2 separate regions of the Homo sapiens genome follow, and region 2 is linked to region 1. Evidence: promoter capture Hi-C in 16 types of primary human blood cells and fetal thymus (Javierre and others, 2016). All regions are on one chromosome and are shown on one strand. Each heading gives the region's core, a stretch centred on a gene start or on the middle of the fragment in contact. The rest is flanking DNA. Distances are from core to core; before and after follow the strand shown.

Evidence for each region. The method cuts DNA at HindIII sites, captures the fragments that hold promoters and counts their contacts. A CHiCAGO score of 5 or more calls a contact.
Region 2: a fragment that was not itself captured here is called in contact with the fragment with the promoter of C9orf152 in region 1 in 1 of 17 cell types (neutrophils); the score reaches 5.3 in neutrophils.

Annotation. Positions count from the first base shown.
Region 1 is chr9:110,206,608-110,209,709 of GRCh38, forward strand. It overlaps C9orf152 (chromosome 9 open reading frame 152), which reads right to left and starts at 1,552. Exons shown (of 2, transcript NM_001012993.3): 1 at 780-1,552. The coding sequence starts at 972. RefSeq lists enhancers at 221-721, 722-1,222. The HindIII fragment of the contact is 8,259 bases long and covers 1-2,888 here.
Region 2 is chr9:111,279,958-111,283,059 of GRCh38, forward strand. All of the region lies in intron 1 of LOC105376219 (a long non-coding RNA gene), which reads right to left. Among named protein-coding and RNA genes, the nearest start is that of MIR7702, 10 kb to the left of the region's middle. The HindIII fragment of the contact is 3,113 bases long and covers 111-3,102 here.

The sequences.
Region 1 (3,102 bases), core at 302-2,801:
CCCTAGACAGAGAGGTCCCTCTGGCCCCTGATTCCTGCCCAGTCTGGCCTGGCAAAGGGCAGCCCAAAGAGTCTACTGAACTCTACAAATAACCACAGAATCCCACAGAGCCCAGCTTTGACCTTTCAGGGTATCTTCCCTTCTCCCTCAACCTGTTCCTCTGTTAGAGGAGGAAGGGCTGGGATTTGACATGCCCTTGCTTTCTGAGCCCTGTGCCTCTAACTCCCTCCTGGAATGAAATCTGAGTTCCTAAAGGGAGGAGGTTTCTCCCCATGAGGGGGTTTCTGTGTCCAATCACACCTCCCTGCCTGATGTTTGAGGCTGGATGAGCCTGGGATGCCTCATGGGTCTCTGAGCCCTAGGCGTCCTCTGGCCCAGACAGTTCCCAGGCTGTTGGGAACGCCATGTCTTCTACCTCCAGAGTGAATTTCTCTGGTTTGTAGGAGGTGCCTTAGTTAGACCCAGCCAGGAAGCAGAGCTCCTATCGCCATACCTGGGCTAGCAGGGGGGCCAAGCCTGGCTCACCAGGCTGACCAGTCTAGCAAGATTAGAACATCAGAGCAGAGGCCAGGAACAGTGCTGGCAGCCAGGTGCTTGGCTGAGGCCCCTGGCTCCCTTAGCAGGTGGGACAGCTGAGCAGAGCTGCCCTGAGCCCGCCTCCCCTGCTCTTCCCCACTGGGAGGGAGGGCTGGCAAAGCCCTGGCTCTGCCTCCCTGCAGCTCTGCCACTCAGGTCTCCCATGGTAAGTCTCTCCTTCCCCAGCACCTGTCCATTCCTACCTTTTGGAAGCACCAGGAGGTGGGCCTGGGTCCTCTGCTGCCTCTTCAAGCCTTCATACTGGGCTCGCAGGAACTGGATGCTGAGTGGGGGCCCTTTCCCAGGGGCCTGAGTCCTGGAGCCCTCAGCCATTAAGTGAGACCTAAGCTGCCAGAAGTGGGGCAGGGCTGGGCACGGGCAGGGCAACCCCTCCATCCGGATCCGGGAGAAAAGCAAACACAGCTGGGTGGGGCAGGACCTGGGGAGGGGAGAGAGAGGGAGGGGGCAGTGAGGGAGAAGGAGAAGTGACGGGCAAAAGGAGGGTGGAAAGAGGAGTGGGACTGAGGAAGGAGATAGAAAAATAAGGGGGAAGGAGAAAGATGAAGGGGAAGAGGAGGTAGGGATAGGGAGAAATGTGGGGGAGGAGAAAGGTGGGAGACAGTGGCAGTAAGAGGAGAAGGAAATGTCAGAGGAAAGAAGGGGCAGCGAAGGGGGAAAGACTGGAGGAAGGAGGTGATAGTGACAAGCGGGGATTAATGGGGCGAGAGAAGAAAGAGAGGGAGGAAGATGGAGACAGGCAGGAGGAGGCAGGGAAAGGAGTGATGGGGAGTGGGAGACCGAGAAGTAAGGGGAGGACTGGGGGAGCAAAGAGAAAGGCAAGCCCAGCTGCTCAGAGCCCTTCAGGGGGGTCAAGAAGGTGTCTTATTCCAGGTCCTTCCATTGCTTGATCCTAAAGTTTAGAATCCAATTCCCAGTGCCACGGTGAAGTCTCCCCTTTCCTGGCAGAGCTGGGACTGGGGCTGGGGAGTGCTAAGCTCGCGCTCTGCTCACACATTTTGGACTGGAACGTGGCCACTTTTCAGCAAACCTGCCGGTTGGGTTTGCAGTAGTTCAAAGAACACCCTCGGGAGCTTCACAAGGTCGGTGCCTCTGGATGTGTGCCCCGCGGCCACACCCTAAAGAAACCCAGTAGCAAAGATCTCCCCAAGATCTCCACTCAGACCCCAACACACACCCCAGGTGAAAATTCAGCCCTAAAGTCAGCCATGGGACAGAGCCCAGGGGAATCTTGGCCTCGGGCCAGCCCTACCCCTTGGACATTTGGTGCAGCCTCTGCCGTCTCAGCATTCTCCAACCAAGTGGTAAGTTAGGCATCCCCTCACTCTCTGCTTGCCAGCCTCAACATTTCCACATTGCTTTTGAATCCCAGACCCTCTCCCTCTTACACCAGCTTTGACCTAGCCTTGCTGCATTTGGTCAACTAAGTCCCTTTCTATCTTCTCCTATCACGGTGCTTACTGATTACCCAATTACCCAATATGTCTACAGAGGCAATGGAAACAGAGTAGAGCCTGAACCTACAAGACATTTTGGACATTAACCAGACAAGATCTAGTCATTTGATGTGGGGGAGCCGTGGAAGATGGAGAGCAAATCTTCACTGGGTAGTATATGTTAGTTTTGCTAGGGCTGCCATAACGAAATCCCACAAACTGGATGTCTTAAACAACAAACATTATTGTCTCAGAGTTCTGGAGGTTAGAAGTCCAAAGTCAAGGTGTGAGCAGGGTTGGTTTCTTCTTGGAGCTGTGTGAGAGTATCTGTTCCATGCCTCTCACCTTGCTTCTGATGGTTTGCTAGCAATCTCTGGTATTCTTTGGCTTGCAAAAACATTGCCTAATCTCTGCCTTTATCTTGACATGATGTTCTTCCTTTTTATTTTTTTATTTTATTTTTTTTTTGAGAGGGAGTCTCACTCTGTCGCCCAGGCTGGAGTGCAGTGGCGTAATCTCAGCTCACTGCAAGCTCTGCCTCCCGGGTTCGCATCATTCTCCTGCCTCAGCCTCCCGAGTAGCTGGGACTACAGGCACCCGCCACCGCGCCCAGCTAATTTTTTGTATTTTTCGTAGAGACAGGGTTTCACCGTGGTCTCGATCTCCTGACCTTGTGATCCGCCCGCCTTGGCCTCCCAAAGTGCTGGGATTACAGGCGTGAGCCACCACACCCGGCCTAATATGATGTTCTTCCTATGTGGGTGTCTCTGTGCCCAATTTTCCCCTTTTTATAAGTACAGCAATCACATTGGATTAGAGCTCAATCTGTCTCAAAAAAATACCGAGAGAGATAGCCAAAGCTTCCTCATACCTTTTTATCGGTAGATCACTCTATCATGAAGGCAAGAGCAACCCATCCATGCTGGACCAGCTGCACCTGCCATGAAATCATGGCAGTAGACATCATGGCAGTAGGCTGGCCACAATGGCTCACAACTGTAATCCCAGCACTTTGGGAGGCTGAGGTGGGTGTATTGATTGTGCCCTGGAGTTCAGGACCAGCCTGGGCAAC
Region 2 (3,102 bases), core at 417-2,916, 1.1 Mb after region 1:
TGAATCCTTCATCTCTCTTTAAAGCATGCCTTTTATTCTTCCTCCTTCAACACACCACTATCACATCCAAGATAAGTCCACCAACCCCAAGAATTGACTGTTCAATTCAAAGCTTCATTCCTGGTTACAAATGCCTTTTAGAGAGAGAAAAAAAAAATAACTTTTATTTTAGGTTCAGGGGTACATGTGCAAGTTTGTTATATAAATAAACTCATGTCACAGAGGTTTTTTGTACAGATTATTTTGTCACCCAGATGCTAAGCCTAGTACCCAATAGTTATTTTTTCTGATCCTCTCCCTCCTCCCACCCTCCACCCTCAAGGTGGCCCCAGCGCCTGTTGTTCCCGTCTTTGTGTCCATGTGTTGTCATCATTTAGCTCCCACTTATAAGTAAGAACATGCAGTATTTGATTTTCTGTTCCTGTGTTAGTTTGCTAAGGATAATGGCCAAAGGAACAAAACAGAAAGCCCAGAAATAAGGACATACATCTACAACCATCTGATCTTTGACAAAGCTGATAAAAACAAGCAATGAGGAAAGGACTCCCTATTCAATAAATGGTACTGGGATAACTGGCTAGCCATATGCAGAAGATTGGACCTCTTCCTTACCCCATATACGAAAATCAACTCAAGATGGATTAAAGACTTAAATGTATAACCCAAAACTATAAAAACCCTGGAAGACAATCCAGGCAATACCATTCTGGACATAGGAACAGGCAAAGAGTTCATGACAAAGATGCCAAAAGTAATTGCAACAAAAGCAAAAATTGACAAATGGGATTTAATCAAACAAAAGAGCTTCTGCACAGCAAAAGAAACAGAGAAAACAGACAACCTACAGAATGGGAGAAAATATTTGCAAACTATGCATCTGATAAAGGTCTAGTATCCAGCATCTATCAGGAATTTAAACAAATTTATAAGAAAAAAACAAGCAACCCCATTAAAAAGTGGACAAAGGACACAAAACAGACACTTCCAAAGAAGATATAGATGTGGCCAACAAGCATATGAAAAAAAGCTCAATATCACTCATCATTAGAGAAATGCAAATCAAAACCACAAGGAGATACCATCTCACACCAGCCAGAATGGCTATTATTAACAAGTCAAAAAATAACAAATGCTGACAAGGTTGTGGAGAAAAGAGAACACTTATGCACCATTGGTGGGAGCGTAAATCAATTCAACCATTATGGAAAGCAGTGTGGTGATTCCTCAAAGAGCTAGAAACAGAACTACCATTCGATCCAGCAATCCCATTACTGGATGTATAAAAGGAAAAGAAATTGTTATATCATAAAGATGCATGTATGCATATGTTCATTGTGTCACTATTCACAATAGCAAAGACGTGGAATTAACCTAAATGTCCATCAAAGGTAGACTGGATAAAGAAAATGTGGTACATATACACCATGAAATACTAGGCAGCCATAAAAAAGAGTGAGATCATGTCCTTTGCAGGAACATGGACGGAGCCAGAGAGAAAATTTTGTCTACCAGATGGCCCCATACCCTACTGCCTCTCGGGCTGACACTGCCACATAAGGTCACTAGTGAAGCCCAGGTGGTTCGGTAACTTAGGTATGATCCAGCTTTTTTTCCTGATAAATTTATGGCAAAATGGGCCCACACTTCTATCAAAATCTTGCAACCCATCAGCATTTTTTTTTTTAAGACAGAGTCACACTCTGTTGCCCAAGCTGGAGTACAGTGGCTCAATCTCGGCTCACTGCAACCTCCGCCTCCCAGGTTCAAGTGAGCCTACTGCCTCAGCACCCCCTAGTAGCTGGGATTACAGGCACATGCCACCATGCCTGGCTAATTTTTGTATTTTTAGTAGAGACGAGGTTTCGCTATGTTGGCCGGGCTGGTCTGGAACTCCTGACCTCAGGTGATCTACACGTCTCGGCCTCCCAAAGTGCTGGGATTACAGACATGAGCCACTGCGCCCAGCCAACCCATTAGTTTTGTGATAACTGTGCTCCACTTCCAGGCATAGACCCCTTAGTTCAGGCTTTTCTACCAATGGCAACAGATGTCATCTGAAGTTTATTCACCCAAGTAGTACAGAACCCAAGGCTAAAAGATAAGCAATACGTGTAGGCAGATTGTGAGTACCTGGACATCATTAACCAATAATTTACCACTTGTGCAACTGTTGACTTTATTGGGCAAAAAATAAAAGAGGAAACACAGCCACATGCTTGGATGTGGTCCATATCATTTGGGTTCACAGATTCTTAGAACTCTCAACCAATAGCTCAGACTCAACCCTGTGCCTTACTTATTTTGACCTTATACGCACCTGCAAGCATCATTTTCCCCAGGAAACACTCAGCACAAGGATGACTGGATTCAAGGAAGTTTCAGATCTCAGCACCTACTATCTAGGATTTATTCATTCTCTCTCTCTCTCTCTCCCTCTGTCTCTCTCTCTTTCCCTCCCTCCCCTCTCCCCCATAGAGCCTGCAATCAGAATATATAATTTCTTCTCACTCTCCAGATCTACCCCCTCTTTCTAGCTTCTGTATGGCTTTTTTTTCATGAAGTATCCAAACATGTTAAAATTGAAAAAGTTTCTTTCAGAATCTGTTTTATATCAAATGAAATTAATTGTGATGAATTGTAAATACGGCAATGAGCAGATAAATTCTTATTGTCCTTAAGTCCATCCTGAGAATAGGTCCAAGAGTTTAAGATGTGATGAGACAAAACATGCTTTCAGACATGAGAATTTCAAAACTGTACAAGAAGATAATAAAAACTGTGAATGTATATTAAAGTTATATACTTTAACCACGGCAATATACATATACTCCGGCCCACTGTTCATGGTAAGAACTTGAATGAGCATTATCAGAGCTCTTCAAGGAATTGTCCCTCACATTAAAAAAAAAAATGCTGTCTCCATAACAAGAAATAAAAATTAGTACCGCCAAAAAGAGGACTTGGAACAGATGTAAGCTCTAGAAAGTTCAGAAAGTGACTACCAAGGGACATTGATTTTTTATTTTTAAAAAATGCACAAGCGTCAGAAATGTTTGGCAACATATGAATGAAAATCAGCCTGCATAACTTTAATTGGGTACT